Regions from separate parts of the Homo sapiens genome. Here region 2 is linked to region 1. Evidence: promoter capture Hi-C in 16 types of primary human blood cells and fetal thymus (Javierre and others, 2016). All regions are on one chromosome and are shown on one strand. The core of a region is centred on a gene start or on the middle of the fragment in contact, and the rest is flanking DNA. Distances in the headings are between cores, read along the strand shown. Region 1 holds the start of OSGEP (O-sialoglycoprotein endopeptidase). Region 2 overlaps CBLN3 (cerebellin 3 precursor).

Region 1 (5,048 bases), core at 1,941-4,440:
TTCCTGTATTTCCCTTAATTCCTCCTCCCGACCTTTTTTACCCCCCCAGTTGCAGTATTTAACTGGGCTGGGTAGGGTTGCTCAGTCTTTGGGGGAGGTTAGGGACTTATCCTGTGCTTGTAAATAAATAAGGTCATGACTCTACGCTTTTTCAGTTGTTAACTTGTGTGCATGAAAATATGAGGAAGAGAATGTGTAGCCCCACGAAGGGGTAAGACACGAAGACAGCAAGGCTGAAACTATGGCTCTTTATTTTCATGTGGATAATTCAAACAAAGTCATTAGTAGTCTTTGTTCAATTTTTTTTTAAAAAACAAAAAACCCTCAAATAAAAAATCTTGGGCTTAAAAGAACTCTATCACAGGAGCCTGGTTGGAGGATTCCTAGTTTTATACATGAGAAATAGAATGCAGATTTCTCTGAAGAGTGTTTAAAGAAGGAATGGTAGTTGAGGGGGCTTATTTCCCAGGCTCAAAGTGATTTAGGGGTGGTGTCACAGTGCTAGGTATAGGGTGATAGGACAGTGATCACTGCCGAGGGCCTTGGAACGGATCTTGCTGTCACACAATGCAGGTAACAGAGAGTGGGACAACAAAAAGTAATCAAGGCGCCAACCAACATTCTTGGATCGAGCATTCATCATATAAGTCCAAAAGGTGTAGGCATAGGGTGTGTTGGGGTAGAGGTGCCTAAAGCTGTCAGCCAGTGGCACAGCCTGCAGTAATTCCCCGAAGCCTTGGCGCTCTTGTGGCGTGAAGCCAGCATTCTTTTTGTTCCCCTTGGGGTTGCGAAGGTCAATTTCTTCATGTGCCACATTGAGGTCTCCACACAGCACAAGGGGCTTTCGGGAAGCCAGGCCCTTCAGGAACTTGCGAAAGGCTTCATCCCAGCGCTGCCGGTACTCCAGTCGTACCAGACCTCGGCCTGCATTAGGTACATATGCTGTTACCAGCACAAACGAGTCAAATTCAGCCACAATCACCCGGCCTTCCTGATCATGCTCCTCATCGCCTATAGAAATGAAACAGAATTAGCATAAAAAACTATAAGAAAAGGGAAAGCAATCAAGAGGTGGGGCAGAGATAGAGAATTAGCAATTGGTTTTGAAGAGTTCAGGCATTAGGCATCAATAGGGTCTCACCTATGCCGTAAGAAACTTTGAGTGGGCACTGGCGGGAAAGCAGGCCCACGCCACTGTACCCTTCCTTGTCCGAAGGAGCTGACCAGTATTGATGAGAGAGTCCAGGCAGCTCCTGAAGTTCAGCTGGTAGTTTGTTCTCTGAACATTTGGTCTCTTGAAGGCACAGTATATCTGGGGCTTCTTCCTTTACCCACTGTAAGTGAAAAGAAAGGTGGAAAACGTATTATCAATTCAGCAGAACATTTATTGAATAATCTATATGCTAAGTCATAGATACGCACGGGTTAAACAGTCTCTTGGCCTAAGGAGTTCGAGTCAAGCAGCACAATATTCAAACAATTCTAAGCTAGATAAATGAAAACAAATATAGAGAGGTAAGAAAGTCTTACATGCTATGCCAAGGAGATGTGTTTTTTCTATAGGCAGTGGATAGCAAGCTAAGATTTTTAAGCTATGGTTAATGGAATGGAGGACATGCTTCATATGGAATGCAATGCAGGAAGATAAAATGGAGGAAGTATAGTGAAGAGGTTTTTGCAACATTCTGGGAAGAGGAGAGAACACTAAAAAAGAAAATGGCAATGGAAGTGAAGGAACAGACATTTAGGAAATACAACTGGCAAGACTGGGGAAGCCCCACAGAAAACTACGGGCAGGAGAAAAATAAAACAGCCTGAAGGCTAAACGGAGAAAAGGGGTGACTAAACCCTAAGACCATTCAATACTAAAAAATGTCTCTTTCCCTCAAATTCCACTCACATCTAATCCTTTCTTCTTAATCCAGGCTCGAAGCCCATCCACATTCCAAGAGCAGATCTTGAGTGTGGCAGGTTTGCCACTGGGTGAGGTTTTCTGATCTGGGGGGTCCTCATACAGGGCTGGGCCCTCTCCTGCTGCCTCTTTGTCATTTTTCTTTGCGGCCGTCTTACTCTTCTTGGCCTCTGGCTCTATAAAATGAGTAATATATACTGACAAAAAGCTGGTGGTTTCCAACTGCGATCCGGCGTTAACTATAGACCCAACGAAAGCCTACGGTTCCTGCGACTTCTTCACAAACCCCTGCAAAAATGAGTCGGCCCGTACTTACCGTACATCAAGGGAATGACAAACACCCCCGCCGCAGCTTCTAGGAAGAAGGGCTGATTTCATTCCCTTACCTGTCCTGAGCTCATCCCCGTCTTCCGCCACCGCTCCCTTTTTCCCACGCTTCGGCATTCCCGTTACGAACGCCCTTGGGCAGCTGTACCGCGTCACCCACCGAAGCAATATTTTTACCGCGTTGCCTACAGACGCAAAGAAATCATGAAACCAGCTAAGGCTGGGGAGAAGACTCCTCCCAAGAGCGTCCCCGCACCAGGTCCCGCCTTTCAAACCACGTTATCTCTAAATCCTTTCCCCGCCTCCGTGCATCATAGGCCCTTCAGCCCCTCACCCACGAAACTAGATCATTTCATAGTGCCTTGTACCCTACTCGCGAGATCTGCCCTCCAGCCAATTGAGGATCTTAATTAAGGGTCCTGACTCAAGCTTGCCGTTCAGACTGCCAGCGAAGCCCCTCTTATGAGCAAAAGAGCAACCCCGTATCTGCACCGGCCCGATGGCAGCCTAGCTCCTCCTAACCCGAGCACAAAGAAGGGTGCACGCTGAGCCCCCACGTGGGTAGCGGACCTGGTCACGTGATCAGAGGCGCGCTTGTCGTGGCCGAAGAATGCGCGTGATTGGTCTGTCTGACACCACGTGACGGAGACGCTTAGCCTCGCCTCCCTCCTCTAATTCTCTAGGACACTTAGGTCCCCAACCCTCCCTCGGGCTGTTTATCGTTGTGCCAGATGCACAGCACATTGTGTGACACTGACTTAAGATTCTAACTATGTGCAAGAGGGAAAAAAACAGTGGAGAAGGCTGGGCTGGACCACGGGAAAGAGATAGGAAAACGGATACGAATGTAAGGCACAGAGTTGGCTCGGCGTCCCTGGCAGTTAGGAAGACAGGTCCCTGGAGGGGCCTTGGCGGGTCTCCGCTCGCGGGAGTTCCGCGGTGTCTTTCCCAGTGCTATCTGCAGGCTGGCCAGCTTCCTCTGCGCTCCGGAAAGCTGCGGCCCAGCGCGGACTAGTGAGGACCTCCACAGCTCCTGACATTGCCAGGAGTCCTGTCGGCGTTTTCTCCCAGCCTCCGCCATGCCGGCGGTGCTGGGTTTTGAAGGCAGCGCCAATAAGATTGGCGTGGGCGTGGTGCGGGATGGCAAGGTGCTGGCGAACCCGCGGCGGACTTACGTCACGCCTCCTGGCACAGGTTGGTGAGTAGGGGACTTAAGAGTTTTCCGCGCACTTCCCCGCACAGAATCAGCCTTCCATCTTCCTAAATACTAGTGAGGTGCAGCTTTCGATCCGAGTCTCATTGAAATTATGTGACATTATTAACGTCACAAGGCTGATGACTAGAAGAGTTACAGGCACTTGGACGTGGATCTGATGAGTTCATTTACCTTTTACTGAGCGCATTTTATGTGCTAAGTATTCAGAAATAGATGTTATACTGCTGTGGAGTCAGACATATAAATAGATGTTTATACTACAGCATGATAAACAGTATAATAGAGATGGACTCGAAATATTCTGTTTAAAAAACGCTTAGCAGGAGTATAGATTCCAGTTGCCCTGAATATACACTCCCTTTTTAAAAAAAAATTATTTTTTGAAATATTCTAGGATGAGTAGAGAGATGAGAGTGGAAAGACTCCCGGCTTACATGTCAGACAGAACTGGCTGGCTTTGCTATATTCATATTAAATATTTTTGTTTTGGACATTTGGTCTTTATTTTTTATTTTATTTTATTTTTTTGAGACAGAGTCTTGCTCTGTCGCCCAGGCTGGAATGCAGTGGCACGATCTCGGCTCACTGCAATCTCTGCCTTCCAGGTTCAAGCGATTCTTCTACCCCAGCCTCCCAAGTAGCTAGGACTATAGGTGTGCGCCACCACATCCAGCTAAATTTTGTATTTTTAGTAGAGTCGGGGTTTCCACCAGGCCAAGCTGGTCTCGAACTCCTGACCTCAGATGATCCGCCCACCCCAGCCTCCCAAAGTGTGGAAATTACAGGCATGAGCCACCGCTCGGGCCTGGTCTTTGTTTTTAAAATGGGAATAATACCTGTATCATTAGGTCTTGAAGATTAGATGAAAGTACCAAACACGGCTGGGCGTGGTGGCTCACGCCTGTAATCCCAGCACTTTGGGAGGCCAAGGCAGGCAGATCACCTGAGGTCGGGGTTCGAGACCAGCCTGACCAACATGGAGAAACCATGTTTCCACTAAAAAATACAAAAAATTAACTGGGCGTGGTGGCGCATGCCTGTAAACCCAGCTACTTGGGAGGCTGAGGCAGGAGAATTGCGTGAACCCGGGAGACAGAGGTTGCAGTGAGCCGAGATGGTGCCATTGCACTCCAGCCTGGGCATCAAGAGTGAAACTCTGTCTCAAAAAAAAAAAAAGTACAAAACACATTACAACTTTTAATTGATATTTTAAATAAGCTATTATATCTTGCTACTCTCCCCTCAAACACTTGCATACATAGGAGAGGGCAGCTGACTTGCATGTATCTGAAAAGCCTCCCTGAACAGGTGATGTTGTGACAGATACTCACTAGAAATATATATGTATGTTTAGCATTCACTCCTCTGGGCACTTGGGCACTGGGAATACAAAGATAAATAAAATACTCAATGCTTTGAGATATTCATGATTAAGCTGAGCAAACCACAGAAAATTATAATGCTGTAATTGTTATGTTAAATAAATGACATCATCATGCATAGAGTTCTGTAGGGTCACAGAGAAAGAAGATCACCAAAGGCCAGGCACGGTGGCTCAGGCCTGTAATCCCAGCACTTTGGGAGGCCGAGGCA
Region 2 (5,048 bases), core at 1,230-3,729, 4.0 Mb before region 1:
AAGGAAGGAGGGTGTATTGTCTAGACTGAACATGGTACACATTCTGCATGTATAGCAGAGCAGCCAGCAGGTAGCAATCCTGGCTGTCCTTCTATGCTGGATCCCAGATGGACTCTGGCCCTTACCTCCCCACCTGAGATTAGGGTGAGTGTGTTTGCTCTGGCTGAGAGCAGAGCTGAGAGCAGGTATACAGAGCTGGAAGTGGACCATGGAAAACATCGATAACCATGCATCCTCTTGCTTGGCCACCTCCTGAAACTGCTCCACCTTTGAAGTTTGAACTTTAGTCCCTCCACACTCTGACTGCTGCCTCCTTCCTCCCAGCTCTCTCACTGAGTTATCTTCACTGTACCTGTTCCAGCATATCCCCACTATCTCTCTTTCTCCTGATCTGTGCTGTCTTATTCTCCTCCTTAGGCTTCCTATTACCTGGGATTCCATGATTCATTCCTTCAGACCCTCTCCTGCCAGTATGCTAAACCCTCCCTCTCTCTTTCTTATCCCGCTGTCCCATTGGCCCAGCCTGGATGAATCTATCAATAAAACAACTAGAGAATGGTGGTCAGTGAGACACTATAGAATTACTAAGGAGAAGATGCCTCTGGAGTTTGGATCGGGTGTTACAGGTACAAGTAGGTATGTTGCAGAGGAAAATAAATATCAAACTGTATACTAAAATTACATTTTAAAAGTTGAATAATGTTTGAGTTAAATAGGAAATACCAAGGTGAATTTGTGGTTTTGAAAAGAAATAACTTTTTGAACTGTCACTAATCCTAAAAACAACATCAGGAACAATCTGATATCCATTCTTAGAAACTGGATCTTTGCTTCAGATATTAGTCACCATTAAAAAAAAATACCAAAAACCCTCAGGTTCCTTGGAGAATAGCTGCACACCTTAAGTAACTCCAGGCCCAGAACATGTTGTTGATGACAGAAAGCAAAGATACTTTTTAAATGTATAAAGTAAAGCTGAAAAGGCAAAGGAATCAATTTAAAGAAGCTCCCACTTGACATGCTTTGACAATTTGATTATCAAAAGGAAAATAATACAGTTAATTGGAACAAGGTGAATTTTTTAAATCCATGTACCTGCAATGATATTCAAAAAGGAAGAAGTCACTATAAAGTGTGACAAAAAGTAGTTAATATGCTGAGTGAAGAAGAGTGAATATAGGCTATTTTTAGTGAGTCGTGATAAGTACAAGAACATAAATATAGTAGGCATTTTGTCTATTTGCAAGGTACATTTGTTTTTCTTTATCTATGTAAGTAGGGAGGGGTGAGTACAGAGAACTGTGAATAATTCCAAGAAGATCTGGCACTGTGCCAAGAATGAAAGATACTGGTGGAACTATTTGAGTATATTTTGCAACTAAGAAGAAAAACAGTCCAATGGCGTGTTATAAGACAATGGATTAGTCAGATGTCCAAAAGACAACTGTTCACTGCTCAGGCTTGATCGTTCATCTCCTAGAAAATGGATCCTCTGTATTACCCCACTAATTATAATGAGATATTAATTAGGCAAAATGATTAAGAGTAGGTTTGGCTGTAACAGTAAAACCCAAAATAAGAATAGCTTAAACAAAATAGGAAATCATTTTTGTCTCACATAGAAAAATCTGTAAATAAGAGTCCAGGGATGGATGGCAGCCTTATGATCATTTGAAAGCCCAGTCTTCTGTCTTGTTCTACCATCCTTAGCTTGCCACCTCATGACCCAAGACGGCTCCCTGAGCTCCAGACATTACATCAGCCTAACAGGAAGGAGGAAGGAAGAAACAACACATCTCTTTCCTTGAAAGAAGCTTTCTGAAATATGCACCAATATTTCTGATTGTGTCTCAGTAGAATTTAGTCACCCGGGCTCACCAAGCCAGGGAGCTTGGCTAGGAGCTACAGTGTTTATTCCAGGCAGCCATGTCCAGCCAGAAGTTGGGAGTTTTATAACAAGGAAGAAGGGGAAATTAGCTATTGGGGAAGACAACTAGAAGTTGTTTTTTATTGTTGTTTTTTGAGGCAGAGTCATGCTCTGTCGACCAGGCCGGAGTGCAGTGGTGCAATTTCAGCTCACTGCAACCTCCACCTCCTGGGTTCAAGCAATGCTCATGCCTCAGCCTCCCGAGTAGCTGGGATTACAGGTGCGAGCCACCACACCCAGCTAATTTTTTGTATTTTTAGTAAAGATGGGGTTTCGCCATGTTGTCCAGGCTGGTATCAAACTCCTGGCCTCACGTGATCTGATTACAGGTGTGAGCTACCACATCTGGCCACAAAGTACTACCAACTTGGTGGCTTAAAACAACTGTTTATTACCTCACAGTTTCTGTGGGTCAGAAGTCCAACAAAACGTGACTGGCTTCTCTGCTCAGGGTTTCACAAGATCAAAAGCAAAGTATAAGCAGGGCAGCCTTCCTTACTGGAGGGGAAGAATCCACTTCTAAACTCATTTAAAGTTCAGTTCCTTACGGTTGTAGGACTTAGGTCCTAGCCCCCTCCATTCTCAAGCCAACAACTGCAAGCCAAGTCCTTCTCACACTTTAAATCTCTCAGGCCTACCTTTCTACCACATCTCTCTGACTTCAGTGTAGAAAGTTCTCTGAGTTTAGGGACTCGTGTGATTAGGCCCACCCAGATAAGCCAGGATAATCTCCCTATTTTAAGGTCCACAACCTGAATTGCATATTTGAAGTTCGTTTTGCCATGTAACATAACATATTCACAGGTTCCAGGGATTAAGGCATGGACATCTTCAGGACATCTGCATATCAGAGTCACTAAACTCAAAGATGGCATCATGTAGAGAAAAGGCATGCAGCTACAATACCACTGCATGGAAAACGTATGGGCTTGAAAATTTCCCATGATATATACAAGATAAATACCAGCTCAGATTTTAATCATTTTAGAAGGTGAACCAATTCCCAGGTCCCAACCAAAAATTCATTGATTAATAATCCAAAACTTGATCTACATTGAGATATATTTTTATTTTAGATATCTAAATTCAAAAATTGCCCTGAGCTGAGATAATGTCTCTCAGGTCTACCACCCATTTTTATAGTGGATTTAAGCATAGGTGTTATAAACTTTATAATCCTTATAATGGTATGTGTCCCTTACCAAAATGAAGCTTTTAGAGAAACTGACATATTAGTGATTCAGTTGAAATATTTAGGAGGATTTGATTGTTTTTAATCAACGTTTAAATCATTTAACTTGTTAAATGTATAGATTTTGATTTGCTGGTTATAGAAATCGTGTTCAAATATTTAGACAATTTTTCCTTCAGTAGGTTTGTGAATAGATTAAACAATAAATAAAGCACAGGTGATGGTGTGTGGTCCTCTCCAGGTACCAAAAGCTCCTCAGACTTTAAGGATCCTAACAACAGACTCCAACTATTCACCTTCCCTATGCCCATGCCCTGGCAGCTGATTCCTACAGAGAAGTCCCACTGATGAAGGATTCAATGTGGATCTAAATCCATGGCCTCCAGCCACATCTGGTCCTCAATCCTATAATCCTCAATCCTCTAACTCTTCACTGGTTTCCTTTGCCAGCTGCCCCTCATCTTCCCCAGAATCCACTGCCAGCTTCTGTTCCCTCCTTAAGCCTTTTGCCCCACCAGTTCTGCTCCCATGGCCCATGGTCAGCGGCAGACAGCCTCACCTTCCACCTCACTGAGAACACAGAAACTCCAAGCAGGACCCTGCCCACCACCACACTTACAAACTCACCTTCCTCCCCATCTCTGCTTCCTCCTGCCTGTCTCGGTGGGAGACGAGTTCCTCCTCCTGTCAAGGCTGCTATCCTCATCCACCAGTCTTGGATCCAGTTTCCTCCAGACATCCTGTCATCTGTCACTCTCCTTTCTACTCACTCCTTCCCTTCAGCAGCTCTTAAAGTTTAGGAGCTCAAGTCTCTTAAATCTAAGAGAAGATAGGCATGGAAGTAGTTGTAGATATAGGTATAGTTATCCTCAGCTCTATCTATTCCTGCAGGTAGTTGGCGTCAGCTCATCTCCTCCTTAAAGCAAAATATTGTAGTACAAATGTCTACACTCTCGATTTGCACACCTCGTAATCACCGGTGAACTATGGCCTCCACTGCTCCACCTGAACTGCCCTCAGCCATGGCTCATAACTTCCGTGTTACTGAAGCTGGTGAACACTTCCTAGTCCTCCTGTCACTCAGTCTGTCTCTAACATTTGACCCTGCTGACTATACCCTCCTTCTAGAAGCACTCTGCCCCGACTTCCCTGACTGTACGCTCCCTGGTTTTCCTCCACCTCTCTGCCTGTGCCCTGCATCTCTTAAGTGCTGATTTTCATCAAGGTTCTGCCCTAGCATTCTTTGGTCCTAAGACACTCTCAAAGGCACAAATGACCATCCATATGCTGACAATGTTATCTCTATCCAGGATCGCCCTTTCTGAAACTCAGACTCATACATTGAATATTCCACTTTCAAGTCTACACGCTAAAACCTGAAATTATAGTCTTTCCTCCCTAAATCTGTTCTCTCGCCCTTGTTCTCTATATCTGTAAACGGAACTTCCCTGTTGCCCAAACCAAAAATGGCCATTATCCTTAATTCTTCCCTCTCCCATAACCCTCATATCTAGTCATTCACATCCATCAGTTCCATTCGTTTCTTTCCGTCTGCCCTGGCTCAAACTAACAATCTTTTAGCTAGATTTCTATGAAAGCCTCCTAACTGGTCCTGTGGTTTCCTAACTGGTCCTGTGGTTTCCCTTCAATTCTCCAGACTGCGGTAGCCTTAGTGATCTGTGTAAATAAACTTCACTGCCTAAGGCCCTCTGGGGGCTCCAGGTGGGCCTCAGAATGAAATCCATATTTCTTAACATGGTTTTCGAGATCCCTCACAATTCAGCTCCCAGAATCTCCACTACTTCATTTTTCACCATCTGCAAGAATGTACAGACCTAAGAAATATCACCACTTATTAGCTGAGGGGAAATGGCACTCTTTGGAAAAAGAGAGTACAGCATTTCAGTCAAAACTTATCAGGACCAAGAG

What was found. Contacts are between HindIII fragments. The CHiCAGO score rates a contact against its expected background, and 5 or more counts as called.
Region 2: a fragment that was not itself captured here is called in contact with the fragment with the promoter of OSGEP in region 1 in 1 of 17 cell types (M0 macrophages); the score reaches 7.3 in M0 macrophages.

What each region holds. Positions count from the first base shown.
Region 1 is chr14:20,452,954-20,458,001 of GRCh38, reverse strand. It overlaps OSGEP (O-sialoglycoprotein endopeptidase), which reads left to right and starts at 3,190. Exons shown (of 11, transcript NM_017807.4): 1 at 3,190-3,433. The coding sequence starts at 3,319. It overlaps APEX1 (apurinic/apyrimidinic endodeoxyribonuclease 1), which reads right to left and starts at 2,776. Exons shown (of 5, transcript NM_001641.4): 1 at 2,608-2,776; 2 at 2,299-2,424; 3 at 1,901-2,088; 4 at 1,142-1,334; 5 at 235-1,011. The coding sequence starts at 2,356. The coding sequence ends at 494. PIP4P1 (phosphatidylinositol-4,5-bisphosphate 4-phosphatase 1) reads left to right here. Exons shown (of 7, transcript NM_144568.4): 7 at 1-321. RefSeq lists silencers at 618-912, 4,540-5,048, enhancers at 2,513-2,732, 3,153-3,242, cis regulatory regions at 2,794-2,799, 2,815-2,820, 2,833-2,865, 2,876-2,881, 2,878-2,919 and 2 more and promoters at 2,667-3,001, 2,666-3,203, 2,833-3,277. The HindIII fragment of the contact is 3,687 bases long and covers 2,671-5,048 here.
Region 2 is chr14:24,422,175-24,427,222 of GRCh38, reverse strand. It overlaps CBLN3 (cerebellin 3 precursor), which reads left to right. Exons shown (of 3, transcript NM_001039771.3): 3 at 1-678. It also overlaps a transcript of KHNYN not described here. Among named protein-coding and RNA genes, the nearest start is that of CBLN3, 5.0 kb to the left of the region's middle. The HindIII fragment of the contact is 1,325 bases long and covers 1,817-3,141 here.